Linked DNA regions of Homo sapiens: regions 2 and 3 are each linked to region 1. The links are contacts of gene promoters, found by promoter capture Hi-C in blood cells and fetal thymus (Javierre and others, 2016). All regions are on one chromosome and are shown on one strand. The core of a region is centred on a gene start or on the middle of the fragment in contact, and the rest is flanking DNA. Distances in the headings are between cores, read along the strand shown.

The links. Contacts are between HindIII fragments. The CHiCAGO score rates a contact against its expected background, and 5 or more counts as called.
Region 2: a fragment that was not itself captured here is called in contact with the fragment with the promoter of CLECL1 in region 1 in 8 of 17 cell types (total B cells, total CD4 T cells, non-activated CD4 T cells and 5 more); the score reaches 15.2 in total B cells.
Region 3: a contact is called between a fragment that was not itself captured here and the fragment with the promoter of CLECL1 in region 1, in 1 of 17 cell types (total B cells). The highest score is 5.4, in total B cells.

Annotation. Positions count from the first base shown.
Region 1 is chr12:9,731,032-9,734,620 of GRCh38, reverse strand. It overlaps CLECL1 (C-type lectin like 1), which reads left to right and starts at 1,524. Exons shown (of 2, transcript NM_001441815.1): 1 at 1,524-1,672. The coding sequence starts at 1,591. The HindIII fragment of the contact is 6,540 bases long and covers 1-3,440 here.
Region 2 is chr12:9,619,555-9,623,143 of GRCh38, reverse strand. It overlaps the pseudogene LOC374443. Among named protein-coding and RNA genes, the nearest start is that of KLRB1, 13 kb to the right of the region's middle. The HindIII fragment of the contact is 598 bases long and covers 1,472-2,069 here.
Region 3 is chr12:9,808,560-9,812,148 of GRCh38, reverse strand. It overlaps a transcript of KLRF1 not described here. Among named protein-coding and RNA genes, the nearest start is that of KLRF1, 17 kb to the left of the region's middle. The HindIII fragment of the contact is 590 bases long and covers 1,461-2,050 here.

The DNA.
Region 1 (3,589 bases), core at 275-2,774:
TATTAGCCGGGCGTGGTGGCGGGCGCCTGTAGTCCCAGCTACTCGGGAGGCTGAGGCAGGAGAATGGCATGAACCCGGGAGGCAGAGCTTGCAGTGAGCCGAGATCGCGCCACTGCACTCCAGCCTGGGTGACAGAGTGAGACTCCGTCTCAAAAAAAAAAAAATTATTGGTTATGCAACCACCTGCAGATAATAAAACCTCTAAAAGTCAGTTTTTCATGTATGTAGTAGGTATTGTCTAGTCACATACAAACAGTTGGAACAGCCCAGAAAAGGGAGAGAGTGTCATGCAGTCTTAAGAGACAGAGGTCGGTGCTCAAGCCTCATCCAGGGTCAGAAGTTGGTCTTTATAGGAGGGATCCCTAAATGCCACAAAGCCAGGATCTGTTCTCTAGTTATTTAATTAACCTAAGTTAAATTTCTTGGATGAGGGGTAGGGATGGGGTGACTGCAGTTTAGATTAATTCTGCAGAATGCACTTGAGTGGGTATTGAAAAAACCAGTTTTTCCATATGCAGATTTCCAGTTAATCTACTAGTCATAAGCTAATGGATCCTGCCATTTTTCATATCTGACATTTCTATGTCCTATGACGGTTTCACAGGTAGCTAGGCTCTCCTCCATTATTTCCCTCTGTATGGTGTTGGCTGCATTTTTCTCTGATTTTACTTCTTCATCAATGATCACATCTCCATCTACTCTCCATTTTCCAGGAATTAGTTGAAATTTTTCATCAACTAATAGGACCCTGAGCCTTTGTGTTATTGTTTTAGACTAACAAATTTTTATTCACTTAATTCAATTTTAGTGGAATTTTAGAAGAAATAGGAGATAAAATCTATGTTTGCTATGTTGTATTCGATAGTAAATTTCTGAACACCTCATTTTAAAATTAGATTTTTTTCTTTTATGTCATTACCTTGAATTATTTTAACAGAGTTATTTCTGTTTCTTAAATATATATTTTTTAGTTCAGAAGTCCTCTGCATAATTCATGTTTTACCTCAGTTTAATGTTAATATTATAAAGCATACAGGAAAGCAAATAGCTTTCAGAATTTTTAAGGTATTATCTAGACAATACAATGCATTTAGAGAGGAGGATAAAAGACATAGGGCCCCTTTCTGTAACTTTCGTAATAAAATCCCTTCTTTTTCTTGTTCTGTTTCCCAAATAGCTATCCTACTTTGGAGAAGATGCTGGAAATTCAGAGTTTCCGCCAGAGAATATATGCCTGAACTAAAAGAGGAAGTGGTCTATAGGAGAAAATGGTGAGATATCTTCTGTGGTATTAATAAAAGTTAAAAGCATTTCAAGTTTAGGCAGAAAACTAACTGAAAAACGAGAACCTACTGTATGGTTAGTAATTTCTTCCATGTCATACAAGTATTCGAGAAATCTGCTACCTTGATTAGTAAGACTGAACACATTGGTTTTGTCATTTATTCATGGAGGAAGTCCACCACCCACTTGGGGAGCAGAAGGAAATTTGCCATCTCAATTTACTTATCAGAAGTTTCTTTGCAGAAATATGATTGTCCCTTCAGTGGGACATCATTTGTGGTCTTCTCTCTCTTTTTGATCTGTGCAATGGCTGGAGATGTAGTCTACGCTGACATCAAAACTGTTCGGACTTCCCCGTTAGAACTCGCGTTTCCACTTCAGAGATCTGGTAAGCTGGATTTAGGGTGCCTTTGAGAATTAAGATTTTACTAGTTATCTCCTTTATTTCTTTCTTATGTATCTAATTGCCAAACTGAAAAGAGGAGATTGGATTCAAAGCAAAATTCATTGAATGCTAAGAATAAGAGCGAATGTTTTTAATGAAGCAAAATGTCTGTTCATAAAATAAATTGCCACTTTGGTTTTAATATGTAGAACTTTGCTTCTGTTTTCATAGCCTTTCTATTTCTTGATTTCTCGTGATGAATGTTTATATTCACACAGCAACTTCTAGCGGGATCACGCCTTTCTGCTCCACAGCTTTGCTCACTCTCAATCAAATCTGACCTTTTAACATAATGTGATAAATTCATCTCCACTGGGAAAAATACCTGTGGCAATTTACTCATATTGTTATTTATTCTTTTACAATATCAATAGGATAAAAATGTAAACTTAAGAAAACATGAAACGTTAGATTTAATTTTATAAAGTCTAGAATTAATGACTAGGTAATTGAATATTTCTGGAATCAGAGGCGATAAGCATATGCCTAAACTTAACATGGTGCCTTCATCACCAAACCCCCTCAAAAATTATAGATTTTCATAGCCAGTGTCTTTTCTATTCTTTGAAGTATTAAGGAAATTTCTCTGTCTTGTTACATTTCCATTCTCTGCTCTAGGGTAAGAATTTTTGTAGCATAGAGTTTATGTAGGTGTTTTAAATAATTTAAAGTTCCTCCTTTGTATTTGCCCTTGTGGAATGAATCTGCTACTTTGTTCGTATTTCCAAGGAATGTATTTCTTCTTTATATTTTCAAAAGTTTATAGTTATCAAAGGAATCTAGTGTGTGTCCTTTTCTGGTTGTAAAAGCATCTTGTTTCTTATTTTAAACCTTACCTCTCTATTTTACCCAGCAGAGGCTAACTTGCTTTCTTTTCTTCCAGCTTAGGCACTTTCACTTCCTATGAAATAGTGAAACATAATTTGAAAAATAACATGGACTAGAACTGCACTGTCATTCCCCTATGCTTCAAAAATGTCCTGTAGTTAGTTTCTTTTTCTAGAGGTTATTTTACTCAGTTTAAGCAACAAAACCAATATTTTTGATTCCGCATTCCAGGGTTTAATTGCCTTTCTGTCTATGGTTTGAACTTTTATAAATAAAACCTTATTCTTTTCCCAGTTTAGGGATGTGGGGCAACATCTTTTAATGTGATCTAGTTCAATCTTAGAATGCTAAAAATGAGAAAACGAACTATATGAAGATTAAATTACCTACCTATAGTCATGCTTATGACCAGAAGTCAAATATCATATTGTTCTTGTGCTGTATACGTGTGGTGTTAGATAAACGCAACTTTTGTTCTCATGCGTCACTTCGCCATCAAGCGAAAGAGCTGTTGGATAGATTAGATTTTTGTTGTCTTACATACAGAGTCCTACACAATTGTTCCTGATCTCTTCTAACCTCATACCTTTCACTGATTTTGCTCTGGCTATTGGCCTTTTCTTTTCTCCTAAAGGTTGTCATATTCCTTACCATTTCAGAGCCTCATAAAATGCTGAATCTTTCTACATAATCTATTAATCTTTGTGTTTCTAGCACCTCACACCGTACTAAATATAGAGCAGGAAATTAATAGATGCTTGATAAGTAAAATAATTTATAAATGGCTGAATAAATAAATGAATCGCATTAGACGATGAATGTATATATGTATGCTCATTGGTTCTCCAAGATGTAAAGCATAAAGGAATGTCATCAGGAAGCTTAGCAGGACATCAGTGAGAGTGTGTGTTTGAACTGAGAATATCCCAGAAATTTATGCTTTGCTTAAATCTTACTTAGGAGGCCTAAAAGAATGATCAATATCTTTTATGTTAGTCTTTTTATGAAATCTGAAATTTTATTCTACTAAAC
Region 2 (3,589 bases), core at 521-3,020, 110 kb after region 1:
AAGTGAAAAAAGAGATATTACAATTGATACCACAGAAATAAAAAGGATCATGAGAATACTGTGAACAATGGCATGCCAACAAATTGAATAACCTAAAAGAAATGTACAAATCCCTAGAAACATACAATCTAGCAAGACTGAATCATGTAGATATAAAAAATCTGAAAAGATCAATAAATAGTATGAAGATTGAATTAGTAATCAAAAATCCCCCTAAAAAGAAATCCCAGATGGCTTCGCTGGAGAATTCTACTAAACATTTACAAAAGAATTAACACCAGTTTTCCTGAAACTCTTTCATAGAATTCAAGAGGAGGGAATGCTTCTAAGTTCCTTATATCAGGCCAAAATTGCCCTAATACCAAAGTGAGGCAAAGACACTGCAAGAAAAGAAAACTACAGACCAATATCTCCGATGAATGTGAATGCAAAAATCCTCAACAAAATACTAGCAAACCAAATTAAATAGCATATTAAAAGAATCATATATGATAACCAAATGGGATTTACTCCAGGAATGCAAGGAGAGTTTAGCATATGAAAATCAATCTATGGGTGCAATGGCTCATGCCTGTGATCCCAGCACTTTGTGAGGTGGAGGTGGGTGGATTGCTTGAGCTCAAGAGTTCAAGACCAGCCTGGGCAACATGGCAAAACCCCATATGTATAAAAAAATATGAAAACTAGCCAGGCGTGGTGGTACATACTTGTAGTCCCAGCTACTCAGGAGCCTGAGGTGAGAGGATTGCTTGAGCTCAGGAGATTAAGGCTGTAGTGAGTCAAGATAGTGCCATTCCACTCCAGCCTGGGTGACAGCGTGAGACCCTGTCTCATTAAAAAAAAAAAAAAAGTAAGAAAAAAAGAAAAAAACAATGTAATATAACACATTAACAGAATAAAGGACAAAAATCACGATTATCTCAATCAGTGGAGAAATATCATTTGACAAGATTAAACACTCTTTCATGTTAAAACACTTAATAAAATGGGAAGAGAAGGCCAGTCCATGAACACAATTAAGACCATTTATAAAGAGGCCACAGATAACATCATACACAAGGATAAAAGACTGAAAGCTTTTTCTCTAATATCAGAAACAAGGCAAAGATGCTCACTCTTACTACTTCTATTCAACATAGAACTGAAAATTATAGCCAGAACAATTAAGCAATAAAAAGAAATAAAAGGCATCCAGATGGGAAAAGAAGAAGTAAATAATCTCTGTTTACAGAGGACAAAATCGTATACATAGAAAACTCTAATGATTCCATACACAATAAAAATCTGTTAGAACTAATAAATGAATTAAGCAAAGTTGCAAGGTACAAAACCAACACACAGAAATCAGTTGCATTTCTATACATGAATAATGAACAATCCAAAAAGGAAATTAAGAAAACAAATCCATTTACAATTTCACTCAAAACAATAAAAAGCTTAGGAATAAACCTAACCAAGGAGATGAGAAGCTTGTACACTGCAAACCATAAAACGTTGCTGAATGAAATTAAAGCAGACACTAATAAATGAAAGATATCCTGTGTTCATGGATTAGATAACTTAATATTGTTACATTGTTCATAATGTCCGAAGTGACCTACAGAGTCAATGCAATCCTTATCAAAATCCTTATGGGATCTTTTGGAGAAATAGAAAAATGTATCCTGAAATTCATTTGGTATATAAAAGGACTCCGAATAGTCAAAACAATTTTGAAAAAGAACAAAGTTGGAGGACTTACATTTCCTGATTTCAAAACATATTACAAATCTATGATAATCAAAGTAGTGTGGTACTAGCACAAAAACAAATAGACCAGTTGAATAGAATACACAGCCTATAAATTAAATTTTCATGCATGTGGTCAAATGATCTTTGACAAGGATGCCAAGACCACTCAGTGGGGAAAAACAGTCTCTTCAACAACTGATATTGAAAAAACTGGATATCTACATGCAAAAGAATGAAGTTGGGCCTTTATTTTACACCATTAACTCAAAATATATTAATGACTTAAACATAAAACCTAAATTTATAAAATTCCTATAAGAAAACATATAGGGAAAGCTTCATGACACTGGACTTGACAATGATTTATTGGATATGACACTAAAAACACAGGTAATGAAAGCAAAAATAGGTAAATGAGACTATATGAATCTTAAAAACTTTTGTGCAACAAAGGACACAATCAACAGAGTGAAAAGAGGCCAGGTGCAGTGGCTCAGGCCTGTAATCCCAGCACTTTGGGAGGCCAAGGTGGGCAGATCACCTGAGGTCAGGAGTTGGAGACCAGCCTGGCCAACATGGTGAAACCCTGTCTCTACTAAAGATACAAAAAATTAGCCAGGTGTGGTGGCATGTGCTTGTAATCCCAGCTACTTGGGATGCTGAGGCAGGAGAATCGCTTGAATCCGGGAAGCAGAGATTGCAGTGAGCCAAGATGGCGCCATTGCACTCCAACCTGGATGACAGGGTGAGACTCCGTCCAAGAAAACAGAGCGAAAAGGCAATGTGTGGAATAGAAGAAAAGATTTTCATTTCTAAAATTTGATAAGAGATTAATATCCAGAATATACAAAGAACTCTTATGTCTCATAAGCAAAAATCAAATGGCCTGATTAAAAAATGGGCAAAGAAATTGAATAGATGTTTCTTTCATGTAAGTTTCTTTCATGTAAGATAACATGTAAGTGGCCAACAGGAATATAAAAAGTTGCTCAACTTCACTAATCATCAGGAAAATTTAAGTCAAAACCACAATGAGAAAAAACTTCCAGTTTCCAGTTCTGCCTATAAGGTGCTTGGAAGTTGCCACTTCAGATTAAATACGAGGAAAAGTTGAACAGACTGACAAATCAACAACTCTTCTAGGATATGTAAGAGCACTGAAGAAACAGCAAATGCCTGCACCCAGGTTTGAAGAGGCAGACGGGAAAATACAGGAAGAGAAACTATCATGAGAGCAAGAGCTGGGAGAGGAAAACACGGACTATAATGGATGAGGTGCTGGAGGCACAGTGCAGGCAACTTTGAGAGTTAAAAACTCCAGGGGGACCCAGTCATATGAGGATCCCACAATTTTGTGAGATTTACCTCTGGGAACTTGACCAGGTTCTCACAGAAAATATTAGAGAAAAACCCTCTCATGCTTCTAGTAGGGGGAGAAAGGAATAATTTTAAAATATGCCAGAGCACTGTGTTCTTCTTCTTTCTTCTTCTTCTTCTTCATTTTTTTTTCTTACACTGTGTTCTTCTTAAAAAGGTTCTGCCCTCAGGAGACAATAGTAAACCAGGACCTACATTGCTGGGGCATTATTAAGAGTCTAACTGACCTAGAAGAAGCGTTATACAACTCTAGTCAGCTCTAGCCTTCCACATGGGAGAAGAGAAATATCCAACTTCAGACCACTCTAGCCATCCTTTCCCGCCTAAGTGGGATGGAAAAGAAAATAGAAACATTTGTGAAGCTCGCAGTCCAGAGGCCTCACTACAAATCTGAGATCTAGTCTTACTTCCCTCTCCCCACACCTCACCGCAATACTAAAGATCAAATTGCAGCGGTTCCTTTTTTCTTGGTATATTATCA
Region 3 (3,589 bases), core at 506-3,005, 77 kb before region 1:
CATGATCCGCCCGCCTCGGCCTCCCAACGTGCTGGGATTACAGGCGTGAGCCACCGCGCCCGGCCAGACCCAATCTTATAAACATTCTTTATTGATGAATGGCCACAGACCTTAAACCAGTTACAGACAGCTTGTGGAGATTATGTACAAACTATTTTTGTACGCTATAGTTCACCTTTTGAGGTAAAGAGCCAAATTCCACCCGATTTAATGTTAAAACACCATCCCAAAGTGACCGTGGGGTGCATGTTACATCTGCTTACCCAATGCACTAGTGCTTGACTTCCTTCATGAATATTCATAAGTATTCACAGAATTTTCCCAACCCTGCTCAGTATGTATGTAAAACTGACTGTATAAGACATGTATACCAGCCCCCTCTCACTTCTTCAGAGAGTGAACTTTCGGATTTTCCCGAAAGCTGCATTTCCCTAATTCTAGGGTTATTTTTCCCTCTGAAAATAAAGTCTTCTCCTTTCCTTCCTTTGTGGATCTCATGGTCTTTTGATAATGAAGATAATAAAAGATCCAATTCCGCCTAATATCTTAAGTCCAACTTTTATCTAATTTAACACTTTTCCTCTCTCTCAGCTTGGATTGGATCTGCTTAGTTTGGGACCATTAAGGGGGCAAGTGAGTATAACGGGCTCTGCATGAGCTTCTTCCCTCTCTAGTATCTCTTTCCATTCCCCAACCCTGATCCCCAGAATGAGTGAAGGTGAAACAAAGGGAATAGAAATAAACACGGAATAAAGATGTTACCAGCCTGGACAGTTTTAATCTGTATGCTGACACTCCAAATGTTTTCTCTCTTTTTTTTTTTTTTTTTGGACTACTTCTATGGGTTTTTCAGAAATTCTGCTCCTGGGGTACTCTGCAGTTGTCTGATGTGTGATGTCTCCTTTGGCAATCCTGCTTGCAAATCACTGTACCTCACCCCTCACAACTCCCCAGGTACCTTTTTTTTTTTTGCTTTCTACTCTATACTTCCAGCTTCTTTTCATTGAGGCTGACTTGCCTGTGGTAAGAAGCAGTCTTAGGTGAATTTTATTTTAGGATGGTTCCCAAATGGCTGCTTTGTATGAGATCTTCATCCGGCCCACAGGAAACACTCCCTTCAGCCTCACCATTGCTGGAAGTGTGGCTTAATCTACACATCTGCTTTTACTCTGTGGTTATGTGTAGTTCTAACAAACTCACATACTGAAAGTGTTCACCTCTGCAACCTCCAACTCCCAGAGGACACTTGCCAATATATGACAGAATCCAAACTTGGCTTAAGGTAAAAGAGAAGTTCTTTTGCTTATTGACACAGAAAGATATTGGGAAATGGGAAGTACACTGGCAAGTCACTTCATAAAAAAAATTCTCACTTCCTAATCTCTGAACACTCATAAACTCTTAATGTGCTCTGAAAGTAGATGATAGATCGAAATTTGAAATAAACACTTTTGCAAGCTTGTTAGCATGTCCTATATAGGAGGTCTAGCACCTATAGAATTGTTCTTGACATTTGTGCCCTCAGATAAAAGTAAACAGCAGGAATGACCACATTTTAATATCCTACTAGTCATTCAATATTTATGAATTATTTTCTGAGGACTTATTACATGTCAGACACTGTTTGGGGAGTCTATTTTAGACTTCAAACATCTTTTAAAAACAAACATTTCATTAAACTATAGGTGAAAATTTAAGCATATAGTCATTAAGTTTGTGAATCAGACCTATCTTGGAGAGGAATTTAATTTGTTTAAATTTATCAAAGGACACACAAAAGATAAGCCCTAGTTATTCTAACCACTTATTAACACAGCTACCTGCGATTTCTGGGAGCTTAACTTCCGTTCAGGCTCAGAAACTCTAATTTTGGGAATATACTTGGACCACATTGTTAATTTGGGAGGATTCAGATAAAGTATGAGAAATGCATTCACATTTGACTATGAGAACATCAAGTTATATTGTATAATACCAAAAATAATGGTCCCTTGAATATATCCAGGATGACCTACAAACAGAATTGTTCCTAGATAAAAACCCTCAAGCTTGTAGAAAATCTATGTTGACACTCACTATTCAGATGTTGTCATTCACAACTCTGAGTTTCAGTGATTTAATGATGAAATTTAGGACTGAGAAGCTTGTTTCTTGCAGATTTATCAACCTTGCTAATTGATCTTTATGTCATTCTCCTTTTGTATACTTCAGGTAAATAAATAAATATTTGATTTATTCATGGGGTGATTTTGTTTGATACATTAATCCATAGGCACAGTCAATATTTTCAAAACAGTAGTTTTACATCAAATAAAGCAGCATTAAAAAAAACAGATTTATCAATAGAATAACAACTTTTGAAAGTGGAACTTATTTTTTTAAATCAATTTTCTTAACCTAAGTTTAAATCTAAGTAACCCGCTTTTTCCAACAATAATAACAATTTATCTTTGAATACTACACAAAATCTCATGACATAATCAAAATTAACTGGGGTATATGGATGCTTCTTTCAAGAATTGGTATCAATTCTGCCTTCTGGAGCCAGTAAACTAAGCGTAACATCAATATGACAGCTGTTGGAACAATTTACGTTAACAAACTTATTCCCAGCAGCCCTTTTCCTGATTCTGGCTAAGTAGCTTTAGTTCCTGGAAATAATACTTAAGTTACGGTTTCAACTAATTCAAATCCCTGTTTTTTCTCATCTGTACTCTTAAAAGTAGGCATTTACATATGTGCATGTATGCAGAGGAAAACTAAGAGAAAGTTAAGATGGTTTGAAACAATCACATAAAAATTATTTCAAAGAATTGGGCCAGGAATGGAGGAAAAAAGTCCCACCCTTTCTTTTTAGATATATTTGTATTGATTTTACCTAAAATTCATTACTTCACACAATCTTATTTTGAGCTTGTTGGTCATTGAATTTCCCCTAGTGCTCTTGCATACATCTACAAATAAAGGCAATTCTTCCCATCTTGTTAACTTCTTCAGTTTAGATTTTAATACACTTAAAAAATTCATCTCGCTAAACTCTCAATTTTCTCCGAAATGCAGAATGTTTGGAGTTTATGATTCTATTACTCAGTGTATTAGATATCCAAGTTGTATGTCATCTATACATTGAATATATTAACCTAAGCATTTATAAAATGTGGAGTAAGAGAGAATGAAATGCAAAACATTCTGGCATATAGAAAATGATCTCTCTCCTAACTAATGGCACCTAACCTGAGGTAGCACTGCTTTCATGTAGATATTATAGCATTCTGTGGCATACATCTCAGTGAAAATCATATACATGATACATTCATTGTTTTCCAAAACCATTAATGTGATAAGTCTTTTAACACCAAGAATACGAGGTCATTCTAGCATGACTTGCCTGCTTACTCATATTACACATATGGATATTTACTAAGACTTAGCTAACTATATTTTTAATATTGCACTCTGCCAACTCTTGCCTAAAGCTCTTTGATTCAAACGTCTACCAAACCAAGGCTGCATGATTGCAGCATTCTGTGGTACATGGAGAAACTACTGTTAGCATTCACTCCTGCTTTTGGGGAGGATGCGGGTCTTT